Regions from separate parts of the Homo sapiens genome. Here region 2 is linked to region 1. The links are contacts of gene promoters, found by promoter capture Hi-C in blood cells and fetal thymus (Javierre and others, 2016). All regions are on one chromosome and are shown on one strand. The core of a region is centred on a gene start or on the middle of the fragment in contact, and the rest is flanking DNA. Distances in the headings are between cores, read along the strand shown. Region 1 holds the start of CD52 (CD52 molecule). Region 2 holds the start of EXTL1 (exostosin like glycosyltransferase 1).

What was found. Contacts are between HindIII fragments. The CHiCAGO score rates a contact against its expected background, and 5 or more counts as called.
Region 2: a fragment that was not itself captured here is called in contact with the fragment with the promoter of CD52 in region 1 in 1 of 17 cell types (endothelial precursors); the score reaches 6.4 in endothelial precursors.

What each region holds. Positions count from the first base shown.
Region 1 is chr1:26,315,756-26,319,399 of GRCh38, forward strand. It overlaps CD52 (CD52 molecule), which reads left to right and starts at 2,203. Exons shown (of 2, transcript NM_001803.3): 1 at 2,203-2,316. The coding sequence starts at 2,263. It also overlaps a transcript of UBXN11 not described here. RefSeq lists a silencer at 1,993-2,185 and enhancers at 2,260-2,329, 2,460-2,609, 2,983-3,644, 3,110-3,209. The HindIII fragment of the contact is 1,957 bases long and covers 1,681-3,637 here.
Region 2 is chr1:26,020,081-26,024,038 of GRCh38, forward strand. It overlaps EXTL1 (exostosin like glycosyltransferase 1), which reads left to right and starts at 1,695. Exons shown (of 11, transcript NM_004455.3): 1 at 1,695-3,345. The coding sequence starts at 2,567. The HindIII fragment of the contact is 4,527 bases long and covers 442-3,958 here.

The DNA.
Region 1 (3,644 bases), core at 953-3,452:
TTCAAGTGATTCTCCTGCCTCAGCCTCCCGAGTAGCTGGGATTACAGGCATGTGCCAGCACACCTGGCTAATTTCTGTATTTTCAGTAGAGACAGGGTTTCACCATGTTGGCCAGGCTGGTCTAGAACTCCTGACCTCAGGTGATCCACCCACCTCGGCCTCCCAAAATGCTGGGATTACAGGCGTGAGCCACTGTTTCCTGGCCTTTTTTTTTTTTTTTTTGAGACAGGGTCTTGCTCTGTCACCCTGGCTGGAGTGCAGTGCCACAATCATGGCTCATTGCAGCCTGGGCCTCCCAGGTGCAAGCAATCCTCCTGCGTCAGCCCCCAAGTAGCTGAGACTATAGGTTTGTGCCACTATGCCCGGCTAATTTTTTTTTTTTTTTTTTTTTTTTTTGAGAGATGGGGCCTTCCTATGTTGCCCGGGTGGTCTCAAACTCCTGTGCTCAAGTTATCTGCCCGCCTCAGCCTCCCAAACTGCTAGGATTACAGGCGTAGCCCCTATGCCCAGCCTCTGTTTTTTTCTTTGGACTCAGCCTCAGCCAGATCTCCCCTGGGCTTGCAACACAAGGCCCAAAACAATAGAAGAGAAGTGAGGGGAGTTTTCCCTTTACTACCTAGCATGTAAATGAGGCCTAAAGTAGACTAAGGAAGGGAGAGTGTGAAGGGAGAGTGGGCCAGAGCTGGGGTTGTGGTGACCAACTCCTGGGGCCTGGGGGGAGTTTGTGTAGGGGAGGGGGAGGGAGTGGCAGGGAATCAAGACTTAATGGATGAATTCTAGGGCAGCCCCAGAGGTTACATACATGGCTGTGGCTTCAGACAGACCTGGATTCAAGGTCAAATGAGACTGGCTCCACCATTTACGACCTTAGCAAGTCACTTAACATCTAAGCCTCAGTTTTTTCACCAGTCAAATGGGGATAAACATAACACCTGCTGCAGGGCACCACAGAGGGTATCAAGTGAGGGAATGCATAAAGCATGGAGCACTATCCAGGCAGCTGTGGGATTCCTCTCATCCCCCCACCCCTCCCTGGGCCCTCACAGCCACTCTCTCACCCCAGTCCCCTTCCACTGTAGCTTAGTCACCCACTTGTCCCTTCCCTCGCTCCCCTCCCATTCATCCTCAGCTAATACAAACAACCCATCTGCTTGCTACTTTCTCTACCAAAATCACAAAATTCTAGGTCTTGGCTGGGCGCGGTGGCTCATGCCTGTAATCCCAGCACTTTGGGAGGCCGAGGCAGGCGGATCACTTGAGATCAGGCATTCGAGACTAGCCTAGCCAACATGGTGAAACCCAGTCTCCGCTAAAAAAAAAAAAAAAATACAAAAAATTAGCCAGGCATGGTGGCACACACCTGTAGTCCCAGCTATGCGGGAGGCCAAGGCAGGATAATTGCTTGAACCCAGGAGGTGGAGGTTGCAGTAAGCCGAGATCATGCCAGTGCACAGAGCAAAACTCTGTTTAAAAAAAAAAACAAAAAAACCAACAACAACAAAACAAAACACTAGGTTTTAACAAACTTCAGAAATAATCTATTTCAGTCTTCCCAGTTCCTTGAAATGAGGAACTGAGGCCTAGAGAGGGAAAGCCCAACTGAAACCAGGCTTCCCGATTCCTCACCTCCAGCACCTTCACAGAAATCCACCAACCCTTCCACAATCTAAACATTTCCCAAGCTTTCATTCAGAACCTGCAGCCCATCTACAACCTTCCCTTGAAACATAAATCTATCCCAGCCCTTCTCCTTCAGCTCCTATACCCTGCCCCAATCTTCTTTAAACAACAAACTCATTTACGGAATATCTGCTATGTTCTGGCTCTTTTTAAATTGGTTATTATTACATGTAATCCGGCAGTTCTTTTGTTAAAGGGTCAGAGAGGTAGAGTTTCTGGCCCAGGGTCTCAGAGCTGGTCAGTGATTAAACCAGGATTCAGCCTGCAGGATGCATGATTCCAGGCCTTGGGCCCTACTTACTCCCACCGTTGCCTCTGGATTGACCTCTCTCCTATCTTGTACGATCTAGCCTGCTCCCCCAGCCAGGGCCTTAGAACCTAGAGCCTGGTATTATCCACCCCCAGATCTGCAGAAAGGAAGCCACACCCCTCCTCCACCTTGTAAGCCCTCCTTCCTCTCCCTACCTCACCCCGCCTCCTCTGCCTCCTGGTTCAAAAGCAGCTAAACCAAAAGAAGCCTCCAGACAGCCCTGAGATCACCTAAAAAGCTGCTACCAAGACAGCCACGAAGATCCTACCAAAATGAAGCGCTTCCTCTTCCTCCTACTCACCATCAGCCTCCTGGTTATGGTACAGGTAAGAGCAACGCCTGGCACCACTGCCAGGACTCCCCAAAGTTGCTTGGCATGGAGGGAGGGCATACAGGATGTGAGCTCCCAGAGACCCAGCCTTCTCTCCTGAGAGCACAGCAGATGGACTCCAACAGGAAAACTGGGGACACAGCGGGCCTGGCCGCCCAGCCTTCCAGCTCTTCTGGCTGGGGCTGCACTGCTTGCGGGCTGCCCTGAGAGAAACCTGTATCCACAGCTGGGGAGCACTTACAGGGTGCTAGGCGCGTTGGGGCACCCAAGGGGTGTTGTGGAATAATAGAGAACTAAGAGACTTGGGAAGACAACCCTGAGTGAGGAAGGCATCGGCCCACAGGGAGTCTGGGGAGATGGTCCTTTGGGGAGAGGCCAGGAGATGTCCAAGTGGAGCCTGCTGTGGTTATGGAGGTGACAGGGGACACTCTAACCCCCACTCCCCTGCCAGAGAGAAGCCTGGATGTTCAGGAATGCAAAGAAGACAGGACTCTCCCATTTCAGAAACAACTGGAGTCTCAAAAGCGACTGCTATTCCAGGAGGCAGCTTTGGTAGCATCCCAGGTGCCCAGAGGGGAGTCAGTACAGCAGACCGGAGCCATCAAGTTCTTGATCAAGAACAGCTTGATCACCATCAAAACCAGCTTAATCTCCATCAAGAACAGTTCTAGTTGCAGCTCCATCAAGCATTAAGGACAGCTCGATCACCATCTGGCCACTTCCCCACCCCACATCCAGCCACCCACGCTTTGCCAAGTGCTTTCTCACTCAGCCCTGGCTCATGTGACCTTCACAACTGTGATGAACTTCTCCCCACTCAGAAGATGAAACTGAGGCTCAGGGAAGCTAAGCCCTTTGCCAGGCTAGGAAGGTCAAGGGCCAGGGCTCCCCTGTCTCCCTCTATGCCAGAAGGGCTGGTCGCTGGGGAAAGGTGAAAAGAAAGGTTCTGTGACCGGGCACGGTGGCTCACGCCTATAATCCCAGCACTTTGGGAGGCCGAGGCAGGCGGATCACCTGAGGTCAGGAGTTCAAGACCAGCCTGGCCAACATGACAAAATCCCGTCTCTACTAAAAATACAAAAATTAGCTGGGCGAGCCGGGCGCGCTGGCTCGCGTCTGTAATCCCAGCACTTTGGGAGGCTGAGGCGGGTGGATCATGAGGTCAGGAGATCGAGACCATCCTGGCTAACACATTGAAACCTCGTCTCTACCATAAATACAAAAAGAAATTAGCCGGGCGTGGCGTGGTGGCGGGCGCCTGTAGTCCCAGCTACTCGGGAGGCTGAGGCAGGAGAATGGCGTGAACCTGGGGGTGAAGCTTGC
Region 2 (3,958 bases), core at 1,455-3,954, 300 kb before region 1:
GAGCTCTGGAGGGTGGGGACGCGTCTGTCTCCCTCCCTGTTGGGAGCTGGAATGGTGCAGCGGATATAGGAGCACACTACCTGGGTCCAAGTCCTGGCTAAGCCGTGAGAATTCAGGCAAATTACTTAAGCTCCCTCGGCCTCAGTTTTCCCAACTGTAAAATGTGGATCATCACAGTTTCTCCCTCCTAGGGTTGGGGAAAGGATGAAACAAGCTGATACAAAAGAGGGATGCTTGGCACGCTGTAAGTGCAATACGAGTGTCAGCTATGATTACTCTTACTCAGGGTTGTGTTCCTGGCCTAGCTCAGAACCTGGCCCATATTCAACACTCATAAGTGTTTGTTAGATGAATGGATGACTGTGTATGGGGATAGAGGGATGAAGGAATGACATGAGGACCTAGACGGGGGCTCTAACCCAGCCTGCGGAGCATTGGAGAAGCTTCTTGTGGGGAGGGAGCTTTCAGCTGACTCCTGCAGGATGAGGAGTTGGCTGGGCACAGTGAAAGGGGGGGCGTGCGAAGCAGCCAGTGGCCTTTGTGGATGCCTCTCAGTGTGGGAGGACTGAGTTATGCAGGAACTGCAGTTCATCACCGAGTGGCTGAGCCATTAGTGCCAAGAGGCAAGTGTCCCCTTTGTGGGCCATTTTTAGGACTCTCACACTGGCTGCTCACTGAGGGCAAAACATCCCACGGTGGCTCCCTGGTCTGATCAGCAGCCCTCCAAGATCAAGGGGAGGCACGCAGGGGAAAGGAGGCCACCACTTGTTGAGGGACCTCAGGGGACAGGCCTGCGTCAACCTGGCAACCCATTCCTGGCTGACATTATGCCCATCCCAGAGATAAGGGGACAGAGGCCCAACACCCCCGAGGCAGTCAGGGGAAGAGGCAGAACCCACTCAAGTCTGTCCACTCCCTGTGCCTTCCCTCATCAGCCCAGAACTCCTCATGGCCAGAGTGTGTCTCCCCCGTCACCCCAGAGATTCCTCAGTGGCTGACATCACCCACTCCTGACTCCCCTCACAGGGCACTGACCGGGGAAATCCCTCCATGGGGCCTGGACTATGGAAGAGTCAAGTGCAGGAAGAACTTTCCATAAGGACTGGAGCAAAAGGCTGGGAATTGGAGGAGATTGGGGGTGGGGCTGCTGAAGGAGGAGAGACCAATCCTGGGGACAGTTGGGGGCACCTTACCCAATTCCTCCACCCCCGCCCCTTAACTCCTCACTTGTCTCACCTGTTGACCTTCTCATGTGCCGATTCAGAGATTCCTCACACTCAGGCTCTGACCTCCACTGACTCTGATGGCCCACAGCAGGTGCAGGGTCTAGTTTTTCTCCAGCCACAGGGCCCACAGCTGGGGTGACCAACGACCAGGAGCTCAGGATTGAAATCCCCACCCTGCCACTTCTTAGCTGGGTCACCTTAGGAAGAGTTCATCCCCTCTCTGAGCTTTCCTCATCTGTAAGAAATGACAGGTAAATCTCTGCCTTGGAGGGTGGCTGGAGGACTGAGAGACAGAGGCTGTGATAACTCATGGCCAGCTGTGAGTTGCAGTACTTGCTGGTTGGATTAGCAATTGAGGAAACTGGTTTGGAAGGGGTTAAATGGAGACCCTGCCTCCCAGCCAGGAGCGAATCAGGGCTGGGAGGGGAGGAGCCAGGCTGCTGCTAAGGAAAGAGATCAGGATGGGCCAGTTGCCGACTGGAGAGGGATGGGAGGAGATACCATAGGGTTTGGGGGGCTTGGCACAGCGGCCCTGGCCTCTGCACTGTGATAGCTCCAAGCCAGATGGTGCAAGGCAGCTGCTGGGCTGCGGGGAAGAGGGGCTGCACTTCCTGAGCTGGTGCAGCGGCAGAGTGGATAAGGATCAGGACCCCGAGCCCTCCTGGCCCTCCAAGGCAGGGGGACACCGGCTGCACCCAGGCTGTGACCTCAGCTGACGCCGATGATCCACATGGGATGCAGGGTCTAATTTTAGCTCCAGCCACAGGGGCCACAGCCCAGAAGCGTCTGCCAGCGGGCACAGGGGCAGCCAGGGCTGCTCAGGCAAGGGGAGGAGTGGGAAGACCAGCCCAGCTCCCTCCAGCCTGTCCCTGGCCAAGCCGCCTCCTGTGGGAGCTCTGACTGGTCCCCATGGCCTGGCAGACAGCCCTCCTCTCAGTTGAGGGCAAGGTCAAGGGGTGCAGCCAGGAGGGCAGGGGGACACGGCCCTGCATTCTGGACAGGGGTTGCGTCAGCCAGAGCAGTGCCCAGGGGCAGGGGTCCCTGCTGGGAGGGAAAAGGCTGGCTTGGTTGTCCAAAGGCCGAGAAGGCAGAGTCCTGAGAGCAGGGGGGCCAGGCCAGCAAGCTGGGTCCCACCTGGCCTCCTCCTGCCTGGCTGGTGACTCACTATCTGACCTTAGACAGGCGGCCTGGTCTCGATGGGCCTCAGTCTTCCCATCTGTACAATGACAGCACAGGACTAGCAGGTCGGTCCCAGCTCTGGTCTCCCGCCCCAGGCCCTGCTCTTCCTGCTTGCTGGCAGAGGCCTCCCAGCTTCCCTAGCCCTGACTGTGGGTGGCCACATGCAGTCGTGGAGGAGAAGAAAGTCCCTGTGGCTGGCACTGTCAGCCTCCTGGCTCCTGCTTGTCCTGCTGGGAGGCTTCTCCCTTCTCCGCCTGGCATTGCCTCCCAGACCTCGGCCCGGGGCTTCCCAAGGCTGGCCCCGCTGGCTGGATGCAGAGCTCCTGCAGAGCTTCTCCCAGCCTGGAGAGCTCCCAGAAGATGCCGTTTCACCTCCTCAAGCCCCTCATGGTGGCAGCTGCAACTGGGAATCTTGCTTTGATACCTCAAAGTGCAGGGGCGATGGCCTTAAGGTATTCGTGTACCCAGCGGTTGGAACCATCTCTGAGACTCATCGCAGGATCCTGGCTTCCATTGAGGGCTCTCGCTTCTACACATTCAGCCCTGCTGGGGCCTGCCTCCTCCTCCTCCTCAGCCTGGACGCCCAGACTGGAGAGTGCAGCTCAATGCCTCTGCAATGGAACAGGGGCAGGAACCATCTGGTCCTCCGTCTCCACCCGGCTCCCTGCCCCAGGACCTTCCAGCTGGGACAGGCTATGGTGGCTGAGGCCAGCCCCACGGTGGACTCCTTCCGGCCCGGCTTTGATGTGGCCCTCCCTTTTCTCCCTGAAGCCCACCCGTTGCGAGGTGGGGCTCCTGGCCAGCTGCGGCAACACAGCCCCCAGCCCGGGGTAGCCCTGCTAGCCCTGGAAGAGGAGAGGGGTGGGTGGCGCACAGCAGACACTGGCTCCTCTGCCTGCCCCTGGGATGGGCGCTGTGAGCAAGACCCTGGACCTGGGCAGTAAGTGAACCTTTTGCCTTGGGGGCTGGATGGGAGGGGGCTGGAATAGACGCAAGCCCAAAAACGAGGGTAGAAGGCAGGACTGAGATGGGAGAACCAGGTAGTCCTGGTAGACTTAGGCCTCAGCTGCAGCAGCAGGAGGGAGCCAGGTTAGATGGCAGAGAGCACTTCCATTAAGATGGGGACTTGAAGCAAGGGTTGTCTAAGGTAGGTTTTGGAATTCTCCCCTGGGGATCTTTCAAAACATAAAACACGACTCATTCCAAACCTCCTACCCTAATATTTTTTTTCCCCACATACAGTTGTATAGTGCTTACTCTGTGCTAAGCACTTATATAAATAATGATTATAATAAAATATGCTAGTTGTTAGCATTTAAGTGTTTGTGTACCAGGCACGAAAGCTCAGACAGGTTAAGTAATTTTTCTCAGGCCACCCAGCCGGAAAGAGCCAGTATTTTGATCCAGAATTGCCTATCTCCAAAGCCTTCAGTATGAGAATTCTGAGTTTTAAGTAAAAGTTTATGATCAACCTCATCAAATGCCTCAGAAGGGCCTCACAGTCACAGCTGGAAGCTGCTCCCGTGTCTAATTTTGGGGATTAACCTCTCAAA